Linked DNA regions of Homo sapiens: all the other regions are linked to region 3. The links are contacts of gene promoters, found by promoter capture Hi-C in blood cells and fetal thymus (Javierre and others, 2016). All regions are on one chromosome and are shown on one strand. The core of a region is centred on a gene start or on the middle of the fragment in contact, and the rest is flanking DNA. Distances in the headings are between cores, read along the strand shown. Region 1 holds the start of COX7C (cytochrome c oxidase subunit 7C). Region 2 holds the start of DNAJC21 (DnaJ heat shock protein family (Hsp40) member C21). Region 3 holds the start of DIMT1 (DIM1 rRNA methyltransferase and ribosome maturation factor).

Evidence for each region. Contacts are between HindIII fragments. The CHiCAGO score rates a contact against its expected background, and 5 or more counts as called.
Region 1: a contact is called between the fragment with the promoter of COX7C here and the fragment with the promoter of DIMT1 in region 3, in 3 of 17 cell types (naive B cells, activated CD4 T cells and total CD4 T cells). The highest score is 6.9, in naive B cells.
Region 2: the fragment with the promoter of DNAJC21 here is called in contact with the fragment with the promoter of DIMT1 in region 3 in 1 of 17 cell types (activated CD4 T cells); the score reaches 6.5 in activated CD4 T cells.

What each region holds. Positions count from the first base shown.
Region 1 is chr5:86,616,368-86,620,814 of GRCh38, reverse strand. It overlaps COX7C (cytochrome c oxidase subunit 7C), which reads right to left and starts at 2,874. Exons shown (of 3, transcript NM_001867.3): 1 at 2,685-2,874; 2 at 1,319-1,462; 3 at 1-147. The coding sequence starts at 2,759. The coding sequence ends at 1,346. SNORD138 (small nucleolar RNA, C/D box 138) reads right to left here and starts at 309; the gene lies at 247-309. RefSeq lists enhancers at 1,784-2,449, 2,747-2,836, 2,769-3,063, 2,450-3,115, 3,127-3,206. The HindIII fragment of the contact is 5,230 bases long and covers 1,075-4,447 here.
Region 2 is chr5:34,927,914-34,932,494 of GRCh38, reverse strand. It overlaps DNAJC21 (DnaJ heat shock protein family (Hsp40) member C21), which reads right to left and starts at 2,936. Exons shown (of 12, transcript NM_001012339.3): 1 at 2,579-2,936. The coding sequence starts at 2,675. LOC124900961 (a long non-coding RNA gene) reads left to right here and starts at 2,814. Exons shown (of 2, transcript XR_007058731.1): 1 at 2,814-2,846; 2 at 3,362-4,581. RefSeq lists enhancers at 2,171-2,340, 1,807-2,452 and silencers at 2,481-2,680, 2,711-2,780, 2,791-3,260. The HindIII fragment of the contact is 5,598 bases long and covers 1-4,021 here.
Region 3 is chr5:62,402,401-62,407,014 of GRCh38, reverse strand. DIMT1 (DIM1 rRNA methyltransferase and ribosome maturation factor) reads left to right here and starts at 3,110. Exons shown (of 12, transcript NM_014473.4): 1 at 3,110-3,321; 2 at 3,669-3,742. The coding sequence starts at 3,243. RefSeq lists an enhancer at 2,900-3,189. The HindIII fragment of the contact is 1,140 bases long and covers 2,771-3,910 here.

The DNA.
Region 1 (4,447 bases), core at 1,625-4,124, about 24 Mb before region 3:
AAATGGCCAATTATTACATTCCCTATTTCAAAAAAGAGGCATTAAGCATTCACGTCATAAGTTTATTGACAAACATATCTAGTATGGCATATGAGTTCTAGTTTGATCCACTTCCAGAGGCTGCACCTCTTAAAATGCTCTTCATATCTGCAAAATAAAAACAGAAATTAATGGCATTTTAAAAATCCCATTCATTTAACAGAAATCATGTAGTTTCATGAAAATATTTTCTATCAGTTTGAGTAGTACATCAGAAAGCGTTTACAGTATCATGAATTCATTCATACTGATTTGCTTCATCACATGCACCGCAACCTTTCCGCATTAGTAGCTTGGATAAGTTATTCCCCCTCTAAACTATGACACTCTTTCCAATCATCCTAGTGTTCTATAGTATTACTCTGAGAAACTCTGATGACAATTAAGCTAAATATTTTATCCACACACAGCAAATCTGCTAACCTTCCAATATGAACGACTCCTTTGAGCATATATTAACATATCCCCTTGACACAAGGCTTCTCAACCTCAGCACCACTGGTAATTTTGCCCCCAAGTTGGAACGATCAAAAATGTCTCACATTGCCAAATGCCCCATTGTGTTGTAAAATCATCCTCATTTAAGAACCACTGCCTTAATGAGGAAAGTATATTTAAAAGTTTGAGTTTCCCAACATGGCTGAGTTGGTGAGGCACAGATTTACAATTGCATAATTATCTGGGACTTATGTATCAAGGAGCACTAGAAGGGTTTTATCTTCAGGGATTTTTCACAACTTAAACAAGTATTGTAAGCCAATTTAAAAACTAGGAGCACAGTGACCACTTTCTAAAAGAAATGGAAATGTTTATAGTGTTTTAAAAGACACATTCTCAGCTACTGTTCTAGTAACAGTGTTCAAGATAGAGTAACATTAATCAGTTTATCAGTTTTACCTGGTTAAAAGTGTGAGTTCTGCAACAAGAAACTGCCTGGGCAAGAGTCCTGGTCCACCATTATACTAGTTATGAGATGTTGAACAACTTAACATCTCTGTGTCTCAGATGGGGTTACTATCATCCGCCTCACAAGCTTGCTAGAGAACATGAGATATCGATGTAAAGTGTACCTGATAAGCAGTAGTATTCAATAAACACTGGCCATTATTGAAATATTTTTATATAGGTTTACAACTAGTCTCCACCAATGCCACATCTACACATAACCTCAGGAATCAGCCCTACACAACAATGTATTTGTGTGTGTGTTCTGGGTGATGGGGAAGAGGCTACTTAATAAAAAGGCCTGCTTTAACATGATTAGAAATCCACTAACTACCTGTTAAATGGAGGAACTGAAACATCCTTATGTTTTAAGCAGTTGGTGTCTTACTACAAGGAAGGGTGTAGCAAATGCAGATCCAAAGTACAAACACATCTTAGCTAGTAACGACCACTTGTTTTCCACTGAAAATGGCAAATTCTGTTGGAAAAAAAGAGAAAAAGTAATCGAAATTGAATCTCAAATCATCTGCTTAATAATCAAAATACAAGTATACAGGAAATGCTAGTTATATTTTACATCATCAGGTTAACATATGCCATAAATCATAACATCGTTTTAAACATTTATCTTTCAAATCCTATGACCTTCATCACAAAACACTACATGGCAAGAAATAATCTGGCTTTACTAAGCACTAGGCAATGAATGGTCTTGAGGACTCAAACGTCAAATAGTGAGAAGTTTCTTACTTTAGAAAATCGAAAAAACTACTGTCCTAAGTAGTCACCTTAGAAGATACATGGCAATGTTAAGTGCAATACAGCTCTTTTTTTTTCTTTTTTTTTTTTTTTGAGACGGAGTCCCGCTCTGTCCAGGCTGGAGTGCAGTGGCCCGATCTCGGCTCACTGCAACCTCCACCTCCCGGGTTCAAGCGATTCTCCTGCCTCAGCCTCCCGAGTAGCTGGGATTAGAGGCACACACCACCACGTCCGGCTAATTTTTTTGTACTTTTTAGTAGAGACAGGGTTTCGCCATGTTGGCCAGGCTGGTCTGGAACTCCTGACCTCAGGTGATCCGAACGCCTTAGCCTCCCGATTACAGGCGTGCGCCACCGCACCTGGCCCACAGTTTTTTTTGTTTGTTTGTTTTTCATTACCAAGCACCTTCTCTGGCCTTTATGACTAGGCCTCGTGTGACCCTCCGAGATTGTTACTGCTATGTGGTTTAAGTTATTTACACCTGAGGCCAAACCCAGCCTTAACTGAGGTGAAGGGTTAGTACTTCTAACTTAGGCAGCTAGTTTAAAAAGCCTGTTCCATAACCAGAGGCCCTGATTTCCTCATGATTTTCCAATGACCTTCATTTCGGGTCCGATGACCTCCAGCTCGGATTTAACCAACACACCTACAGCCGTGGCCTCCCGGAGCCATCTCAGGGCTTTCTGCGGGGCGGGGGAGGGGGCGTCAGGTGGCTGATGGAGGCAGGGCTTCCGGATCTACCTGCCCATTCCTTTAGCGGCTACGCGCTAGGATGCCCAGCTTCCTCACTGGTCCTTGGGCTAAGTGGAATGCTAGTCTGCGTCTCAGCCTGGTTTCTGGCTATCATCTCCCACGCCACAGCCCGGAGGCGGCCTTGCAGGTGCGCGAGTCACAGCCAAGCGCCCCCTCCCCCAACGAAGCCGTGCCCCTTACACACTAACCTTCCCAGGGCCCTCCTCATAGTGGCTCCTACGGACCACAGAGGTTGTGAACCTCCGGATGCTCTGGCCCAACATACCGCTGCTGGAAGCTCTGCGAAAGGCGCAGAGAATGAGGACAGATGAAATGGCGGCACCTCACCAAGACCTTTTTTTTCACGACCTTGTTCCCCGGTGCGCAAGGACTGAAAAGAAAGATGGGAAATGGGGCGGAGCCTTGAGGAAACGCGACAAAGCGGAAATCGCCCTGGATTGTGGGAATTGTAGTTCAGACCATTGCGGAGCCTTATCAGCCCCCGAAGGATTGTGGGAAATGTAGTTTCGCGCCAGGCTTAGGTCTAGGATTCCTGGGGCCTGTTACCGGAAACGATTTTATTGAATCAAGTGAAGCAGTTTCACCCCGTATACTCTAGTCTGTTGAAAAGGACAATAAACCCATCCCTTTTCTCTTCTTTCTTTCTTTTTTAAAAATAAAGTATATGCTAGGTGTCAATGATTTCGAGGACTTTTGCCAATGCTGAGAGATATGTGCTAATGATCCTAGCTGAAGAAACAAAGCATAAACACAAGTAATCAAACAACGTGCAGCACAAAGGACTTCAGAGAGAAAACTGAAATGCTAAGGGAATGATCACTAAAGATAATGGGAATCGAATAAAAAAGAAGGAAGAACAAAGGGCAGGGAAAACTCAAGTCTGGTATGAGTACAGCATGTGTGAGGAGTAGAAGGGAAAAGTGGCCTCTGACACCTGGAGCTAGCCTGGACTAGGAACTGGTGTCCGCCTGATGAACGTACACAATTTCAGCAAGCATTAGCATCCAACAAGACCACTCTGACAGTGTTCATTAAGAAAAGAATATGATCACTGTGTAATCACATCTGAACACAGATAAAACATTGTCCAAGCCACGAAAATGACCGGACATCACCCTATCTGGTTTAATTTGATGACTTCTGCTTCTTTACCAATTACAATCTTAGCCTTGATCTAGCCTTTCTTCCTCCTAAGATTTGGTAAGGTAGCCAATATTAGGAGAAAAAAATCCCAAATCCAATAAGCATTTTCTAATATTTTACAGAGAACCCTTACTGCAATGAATAATAAACCCCGTTTGTCAATTACATGTGTGCTTCTGGTGGTCTTTGACCAGAAGGTATTGAGAAGAAACCAGTGATAAATGAACCTGGGAAAGTGGTGTTAGGTTAGATTGTGAAAGGCCCTGGTAACCTAAATGTTATGTTATTCATCTGTGGGGGAGTGTATATTGCCTCACGTGTCTCATTTATATAGCATTAGGAAACAATTCCAATAAGACCTAAGGTTTGCTTTGAAAAGGGCATAACATATATGCTCTTTTCGTCTTTTTTTTTTTTTTTTTTTTCAGTTTTTGGAAGAGAACAACCATGCCCCTCCCCCCCAAAAAAACACTTAAAAAAAACACTTAAATTCATATTTTGTTTCAACAAGTAGCTTCTTTTTGAGTAGGGGTTCATGAAATGCATCATAACTGGTGTCCTCTACCACCTAATTTATAGAAGTTATGTGACATTCCATTTTTTTTTAACATTCCGTTCACTGCCTTTACATATTAAAGAATTCTGATTTAACTATAATTGAGAAACTTTTTCACACTTAATATTTCTAGATTACACTTTTCAATCTAGTGTGAGTAATGTTATCTGTGGATTTGGTTCATTGTTGCTTCTAATTCACATTAATTGAGCCTCCATTGGGTATCTGGCTTTGAGTTAACTCTTTAGGGAC
Region 2 (4,581 bases), core at 1,687-4,186, about 27 Mb after region 3:
ACTAATATATTCAGAACGTAAAGCATTTTGAATTGACTATGGAGAACACTAAAGTTCGTTTTTTTTTTTTTTTTTGAGATGGAGTCTCGCTCTGTCACCAGGCTGGAGTGCAGTGGCGCGATCTTGGCTCACTGCAACCTCTGCCTCCTGGGTTCAAGCGATTCTCCTGCCTCAGCCTCCCAAGTGGCTGGGACCACAGGCGTGCGCCACCACGCCCAGCTAATTTTTGTGTTTTTAGTAGAGACAGGGTTTCACCATGTTGGCCAGGATGGTCTCCATCTCCTGACCTCAGGTGATCCGCCCACCTCAGCCCCTCAAAGTGCTGGGATTACAGGTGTGAGTCACCGCACCTGGCCGGAGCACACTAAAGTTCTTTAAGCTACAGCTCAATACTTCCCTTCTAAGAAGTTACAAGAAAACATGACAGCAATGTCTTATCTACAAATAGTTTTGCCGCCCTAGAACATGGCTCTTCAGGGCTTCCTGCTGCCCATTCTCAGATACCATCACACTGATGCCATAAATTATGATGATATTTAGAGAAGATATTTGCATTCAGTTCCTAACAGGTTTGGTTTCAAAGGAGTTAACTGATACTTTAGTCATATTTGCATGCTTCTTCCTAGCACTGATTTCTAATTAATCACCAAATCTGGTCATTTTTCCTTCCCAACATCTCCTCCCCTTGCGCTTTCCCCCTCCCGCTGACCCCAAGCCTGGCTTGGGCCCTTACCTGTCTGTCCACTGCGGACTCTCCCTAACTTCTGTCTCCAGCCCTCTTCAATCCACTAAGTTGCCTTCATAGTACTCTCCCATGGCAGCTTAATAAAACCAGCCACAACTCTCCCTTATTTAGCGAAGCAAATTTCACAGTCCTTGGGCTAATATTCAAGATTACAAGAAATACAATCTGATTTCAAACTACTCTTGTACTCAAGAAATACAATCTGATTTAAAATCACTCTTCAGAAAATTACATACGCTTTTGGTCACAGCATTCGCTACTTCATTTACCCTTTCCCACCTAGAAAGTCAAGGAATTCCGAACTTCCTTCTAATTCCTAACTTGATTTCTAACAGTAACAACCCAAACTCCTAAGAATATGCTTCTACACTAACCCAAACTCTAAGAATATACTTCTACACTATTTTTACATTTATTAATTTTGGCTGTATCTTCTGACTTACTGCTATGATGAACATCAGTTCATTTACTTCTGCTCTTCTAATATATTTATAATCACATTTTTTCACGCCTCTGTTGGTAAGCATAACTTTAAGTAACAGACCCACACCTCTATCTCTCACTCCATCACCATAGCCATTCCCTTTTGACTTTGGGTCCCTGACCTTTCCTTCCACTCCTCTCATAATCCCTATTTTTCAGACCTGCAATACACACCACCTTCAGTCAAACTGTCCCCCGGAACATCTTTTGTCCTCCACCATGCTATCCTCCATACTGTTGAGTTCACTTTTCCAAATTGCATTCCTCTACGATCCAGTCCAAACTCCTCTGAGAAGGGGAAGACTCAATACAAAATGGTAACTCCCTCCCTGAATTCCTGGAGCATATATTAGTTGTTCCATTAATCTAACCACCAATTATGTATGTTGCGATTTTTTTCTGGCAGTTGTATTTAACTTTTCATTTGTGTAAGGCAGAAAGTTGTTTTCCTAACAAGACTCTAAGACCCCTGTCTCAGCATTTCCAAATCTACTTAGTAGAGTGCAGTGACTTGCATATATTGGATACTCTGTAACCGTGTTTACTGATGAATGCTAATATGAAAGCCTCTTCATATGAACCTCAAAAAGCTGAAAGTCAACTACTCTCTTAGTTTCCCAGCCTGGAAGATCAGATTACTTCATAAAAGTCACACAGGCCTGGATTACAGACCAATGAAACATCCAAAGGAAGGATACTTCTAAGTAAACATACAAACTTTACTGGGGAAGCCGCCTGATTAAAACCTTCCCCGGCAGAATCATGTCCAAAGTGAAGTACAAGGTCTGCTTAAACAGCTTATTAAAAGAAAAAAAAAACAGCGAAAAAAGCGCATCCCTATTGAAAAGATATTTTACTAGCTCCCGTGTCTTAACTTCTTAACTAAGAAACGAAAAGAGCCATACATCAGGTTGAAGTATCTGGGATTCCCGGACGAGGTGGAGGGCAGCGGAGGAAAAACACCGAGAGGCTGCGCTGCAAGGGACGCAGGGAAAAGCAAGCCTGGGGCAGGTCTGAGTTCCGAGTTCCCGACTGCTCCCTCGTGGTGTCTGCGACCCGGTAGCGGGAGCAAGTGAGGTTGTTGGACTGCAGTTTTCCCCCTACAGTGGCGATGCGGGGCCGGGGTCGCGGGTATGAGGAGATGGGGTGTGAGCCGGGGTGCGCCAGGGCAGAGCGCTTCGCCCACCGAGACGGGCAGGGCGGCTCCGGGCACTGGCCGGGCGGGGCAAGGAGCTCCTAGGCCGCCAGGTCCCTCTCTGCTGGCTCCGCGGAGTCCGCCCGGGGGAAGGGAAGGTCGGGGAGGGCCGGGCTTCTCCGAGTGGCCGCGGGGGCTGCGGGACAGGTACTTACCCGGGTGCCATTTCAGGGCCAGCTTCCGATAGGCCTTCTTGAGCTCCTCCTCGCTGGCGTCGCGCCGCACCCCCAGCGCCTCATAGTGACACTTCATCGCCCGACCGGGCGGGCGGCCGGCGCTGGGGCCCGGGACGGGGTCGGGGCCCGGGCCCGGGCCGAAGCGGCGGCGGCGGCGGCGCTGGCAGTCCTCTCCGGCGGGAGTCCGCCGCCCGCACCGGGCCAGCCAGCGAGCCCGGCGGCGGCGGCGGCGGCGGCGGTGGTGTAGGTCAGTGAAGGCGCGCGGTGGCGGCAGACGACGCAGGCTGCGGCAAGCGGGAGCGCGGCGGGGGCGGTGCCGGCGGCCGCCGCTTCGCATGGGCTAGGGGTGGGCTCTGTGCCGGAAAGGGCCGCGCGGGAGGGGGTGGGGCCTCGGCGGGGTGAGAGGCGAGGCCCCGAGGAAGGAAGGCGGGGCCTTGGCGAGGAGAGAGGCGGGCCGCGCAGGAGAAAGGCGGGAGCTTGGCGGGGAAAGAGGCGGGCCGCGTGGGAGGAAGGTAGGCCTTGGCCGGGAAGAACAGGAGGAAGGCGGGACCTTGGTGTGAGAGGCGGGGCCTCGGCGGGGCGAGAGGCGGGGCCGCGCGGAAGGGAGGCAGGGCCACGCTGGTGTCATTGTGAGGGGCACAGATGGCGGTCAGTGTGAGTGGCAGCCGACCTGAGGGCTGAAGGGGGAGATAGGAGCTGGGATGGGAGAGGATTCTGGAAAATATCTGATTATAATTTCTCAATGGATCCCCGTTTTTATAGATAAGGCGATTCAGACTCCAAGTGGTCAAGTGGTTGGCTCAAGCCTCCTCAGCTAATACAGTAGCAGAATTCGGTTGGACTGAATATCAGGTTTTTTTTTTAATCTCTTTAATTCTCTTCAGCTGCCACTTAAGATATCTGGTATTGATCATCTTGACCAATATGCTTGAGAAAGGACAGTTAGATTATTTAAGCGGAAACAATTTAAAAGGGAAGCATCAACACACTTAATGAAAAGCCTTACCACCAACATGGATGAAATTGTGCTGATCTATCCATCCAACACACTTTAATCCTAACTTTCTGGCCTCTAATCCTACCTTTCCAAGATTGGTTTAGGTTAAGAAAGCAGTTAAAGGATAGTATTTAACTGGTAGGTTTTGGTTGATCTGACTATCTGCACAATTATTCCAAACACTTTGAAAGGTATCAAAATAATACCATAATTATTAAAATGCATTAATACACCAATATATTTCACTGTAATGTGGAATGTTTACATGCATCAGTTAGGTGTGGGTTGTATTTACTAACCATGTATGGTTAGCTATGTTGCTAATATCTATTGCACAGGGTTGGCGTACCCAAGCGGTTTAGTAAGGTTATCCTTCTCTTCCCCAATATGCTGCCCCCAGTAAAATAAAAAACCCACGCTAAGCTTCATCAGGTTACTTCACACGCCACTGACCAACCAACTCACTACTCAGAATTCATACACTTCCCTTTTTTCCAGAGGAAGATTCTACACAGTCTCAGTTAGTTGGTAAATTGGTAATGGATAAGGATTGAGAAGTCTGAGTTTGGGGGAGAATGAAACCTTTCCCCTCCTGAGAACAGAATTGGGATGGTGGGCGGGGGGAAGGGAGGGACAAAAAAAAAAAAAAAAACGGAAAGGGAAAGTATTTTTTTCCCTCCAACTTAATTTGGAGTATTTTCTCCCTCCAACTTGATTTGGTTTTGGATACAGCCTGTAGGAATCACTTACTTCTTTTACCTTCTGAAGTAAGAAGGATTTTTGCCTGTAACATTGTATAATTAAAGGTAACTATGCTGGATATAAATTTCAGTCTAAAGGAACATCTTGACCAGGCGTGGTGGCTCATGCCTGTAATCCCAGCACTTTGGGAAGCCGAGGCAGGAGGATCCCTTCAGCCCAAGAGTTCAAGACGAGCCTGGGCAACATAGCGAGAACTTGTCTCTACAAAAAAAAAAAAAAGCCA
Region 3 (4,614 bases), core at 1,861-4,360:
TCCTTCCTTCCTTCTTCCTTTCCTTCCTTCGCTCCCTCCCTCCCTCTTTTCTTTCTTTCTTTGAGACGGAGTCTTATTCTGTCACCTAGGCTGGAGTGCAGTGGAGCAAACTCAACTCACTGCAACGTCTGCCTCACTGCAACCCAGCCTGGGCCACTATTTTAAAAATATAACATTTGAAGCCAGGCACGGTAACTCATGCCTGTAATCCCTGCACTTTGGGAGGGCAAGGCGGGCAGACCACTTGAGGCCAGTTCAAGACCAGCATGGGCAACATGGTGAAAACCCATCTCTACTAAAAATACAAAAAAAAAAAAAAAAATTAGCCAGCGTGGTGGTGGTGCACGCCTGCAATCCCAGCTACTTGAGAGGCTGAGGCATGAGAATAGCTTGAATCTGGGAGGCTGAGGTTGCAGTGAGCCAAGATCATGGCACTGCACTGCAGCCTGGGTGACAGAGCAAGGCTCTATCTTAAAATATATATATATATATATATTTATATTTATATATGTTTATATTTATATTTAAATATATATATTTATATTATATATATGAGTTGTGTCTTTAACAGCAAACAAAAGTTAGCCAGGGGAAGGTCGAGAATGCAAAAGGAAGAGCACTCACAAAGCCGAGGTATAAAGATGTTTAAGGAAGAAAAAGGAACTTGATAACGTTGGGAAGTAAATAAGTAAGGTAAATAGGAACTTAATTTGAAAGGCCTACAATGCTATTCTAGGGAGCAATAGTGGTCATTCATTGATGAATCAAAAGAACAATTTTGCCTTCTCTGCTCTTGTCTCCAGGCTGTGGTTACACAGCAGTACACATTGGAGATACTGGGCTCCACATTTAGCTGGAAGACATGCCATGTCTTCTTGAGTTCCCTCTAATCTTCCTCTCCCATTGCGCATAAAGGATCTTCAAACCTTCTCCGCACTCATGCCCCTTGTCCTACCACCTCCACAGCTCCTTCTCTACAGAAAAACTTGCCTTTTATTTCACAGAAGAAATGCAACCTAGAGGCCAAAGCAGGCAGATCACTTGAGCTGAGAAGTTTGAGATCAGCCTGGGGAACAAAGTGAGACCCCGCCTCTACAAAAATTACAAAAATTAGCTGGACAAGATGATTCATGTCTGTCGTCTCAGCTACTCGGGAGGCTGAGGTGAGAGCATCGCTTGAGCCCGGCAGGCGGAGGTTGCAGTGAGCTGAGATCATGCCGCTGCACTCCAGCCTGGGTGACAGAGTGAGACCGTCTCAAAAAAACAAAACCAAAAAACCCAACAACAACAACAATAACAAATCACACACAGGGTTTTGTGTCATGTTAATTTTTTTTTTTTAAACAGGGTATCATGCTGTCGCCCAGGTTGGTGCAATCTTGGCTCACTACAAATTCTCGGGCTCAAGTGAGGCTCCCACCTCAGCTTCCCGAGTAGCTGAGACTACAGGCCTGCACCACCACGCCTGGCTAATTTTTGTATTTTTTGTAGAGACGGGGTCTCACTTTGTTGCCCAGGTTGATCTCAAACTTCTCAGCTCAAGTGATCCGCTCGCCTTGGCCTCTCAAAGTGCTGGGATTACAGGCATGAGCCACCTCTCCAGGCCATGTCCATCCTATTAACATTTGGAAGTGCCTAGCACAGTGTACTCTTTAGAATTGTGGAATAACAATGATTGATGAAATGAAACATATACTTGAAGATGCTACTAGGGTATACGAGATTTTTTTTCTGACTTAGAACTACATCAAAGAAAGAAGGGCCTAAGACCAAGGTTTGGGAATGTACACAATGAATTGCTCAAAAGAGAGTTAGCTTTAGTAATGACAGGAAGAAGCTATTTCTTCAACCAAACAGAATACACACAGAAAAATTTAAAAGAGCCATTACACTGGCTGGCAAAACAGATGTGGATATTATGGCCCTGGTACACACGGAGTTTATAGTCAGGTACACTGTCCTGTCACAACGACCAATACGTTATCGTATTTACAGCGTTTTGGAGTTTCTGTCCATCTCTGTCAATATAATACACTTTGAAATAAGTTTCTTACTTAGAATCCCTAGCAGTGTTTGATACACAGTTGGAGCTCAATAAATGTTTACGGAGTGAATGATGAGGCACAAAAGGAATTTGTTGAATTATTTGTTAAATGAATCAAATAATTTTCTAGGATTCACGGGCTGTCTTCTGCACGATAAGCTTCATTCTGTGGGTCTGAGTTTCTCCTGGTTCTCAATTCTGTCTTTTTGTGGATTATCTACTTTGTAGCTGGAGCTTTGTATCTGTTTAAGATAATTATTCTTCTATTCCTTTTTTTTTTTTTTTTTTTTTGAGACGGAGTCTCGCTCTGCCGCCCAGGCTGGAGTGCAGTAGCGCGATCTCGGCTCACTGCAACCTCCGCCTCCTGGGTTCACGCCACTCTCCTGCCTCAGTCTCCCAAGTAGCTGAGACTACAGGCGCCCACCACCACGCCCGGCTAATTTTTTGTATTTTTAGTAGAGACGGGGTTTCCCCGTGTTAGCCAGGATGGTCTCGATCTCCTGACCTTGTGATCCGCCCGCCTCTGCCTCCCAGAGTGCTGGGATTACAGGCGTGAGCCTCCGCGCCCGGCTCTTCTATTCTTAGTAGAAGCAACCAGTAGCCCTAGCGAAACCAGACGTTAATTCCATTCTCGCAGTTCTTTTCCCCAGGGCAAGCAGCAAAAAATGCATTCCCACAAAAGAGCAAGCTCATCCCCAAATCCCGGGTTTCCCACCCCCACAAGCTTCAGGAAAACAGGAGCGAGGCACGTGAATACTTCTTTGGACCTCAGCGATCCCAGAACCTAGGCTACTAAAACATCCATAGGCTTAACCTCATCATATAACTTAAACAGCCTTCGCAACACCGAGAGCACCACACCAACACCTTCTTATCCAGCCCTGGTTGGGACAAGGGCTCCAACTCCAGACTGCAGTCCTCGGTAGCGCGGTGTCTTCTGGGATCTGTAGGCTCCCGCGGTTCGGCCTTCCTCCCTCTGTGACTCCAATTCCCGGCAGTCAGTGGGCTCCAAGGTCCGCCCTTTTTCTGGAGGAGGAGCTCAGAGCGTACGGGAGGGGGCGGACCCTTGCCCCTCCGGCGCTTGGGCCAGAGTGGTGCGGGCGGCGCGTGGCGGCGATCCCCACGTGGTGGCTTTCTCACGCTAGCCCTCTTTGGTCCTCCTTGACGTCCCGGGCCTGTGGGCCCGCTTTCTGCCGAGATGCCGAAGGTCAAGTCGGGGGCCATCGGCCGCCGCCGCGGGCGGCAGGAGCAGCGCCGGGAGCTGAAGAGCGCTGGAGGTGCGGATCCCCGCGAGGAAGCTGGGGTCGGTCGGGTCAGGTCTTCCGGCAGGACCTAGCCTGGGGTGCGGACCAAGACCTGATCGGCAGAGGCCGGTCAGGACGCGCTCCCGTGAGCGCGGAAGGCAGGGGTGGGTCCCCGACTCGGCCGCAGGCCCTGCGCGTCGCCGCTGACTTCCTTTCCAGCTGGAGGATGAACTTATAAAGAGTTTGTCAGTCCTGGCGTGACGTTTCGTGGCCCTGGTTGGCGCAGAAATCTTCCCCATACCCATGCAGCTTTCTTCTCTGGTACTGCCTAATATCTAATCTCAGTAGGAAAATTAATGCTGTTTCGTATTTTCTTACAGGACTCATGTTCAACACGGGGATTGGGCAGCACATTTTGAAAAATCCTCTCATTATTAACAGCATTATCGATAAGGTGGGTGTGGAAGAGGAAAGGGAGAGAGTTGTTGGTTTATTAATTTTATTCCTATGAATACATAAGCGCAGAAAGTCTGCCTGCCGTAAATTAGATGCTCTGTAAATATTTGTTGAATGAATCAAATAATTGTCTAGGATTCTTGGGCTGTCTTCTGCATGATAAGCTTCATTTTGTGGGTCTGAGTTTCTCCTGGTTCCCAATTCTGTGTCTTTTTGTGGATTATCTACTTTATAGCTGGACCTTTGTATTTGTTCAAGATAATTATTCTTCTATTTCTAATCACCTTTTTGATCACTTAGTTTTTATGTACTCCATCTATTTATGTCTAAACTACACATTAGAAAGTTTGTTCCCCAGAAAAACATATAGTACTACATATAAATTATTTGGTGTATGCTAGTACCACATATAAATTGCTTGGAGTATTACTGCTTTCTGAGTTATTGATGTTCTCTTATGGTTATGGATGATTGGGTGTTAGGAAGTGAAATACACACGGTGCAGATTACACTTATGGTTAAAAGCAAGGAAAGCATCCTGGAGCTGTAGAAAGAGCATTACATAGTTAAAGGATCTTGTCAGGCTTCGTGTCATTTGAAAACTGAGAAAAAAAGAAAGAAGGGTCATGTACTATTTTAACCTTTTTAGCTCATAGTTTCCTTTGAGCATCTGATGAAAGCTATGGCCGTAGAATATTAGAGCTGTGTGCAGACATTCAATTTTGTGTACAGTTTCTGCTCTTCTGCATCCTTGAAACCATACATGGGTTGAAAATTGAAAAATCTTCGCCCAACACGTACAGTCCTTTCCCATTTGAACTTGTTGATACGAACAGAGAAGGTAACAAGAGGCTATTGGAATATTTCCAG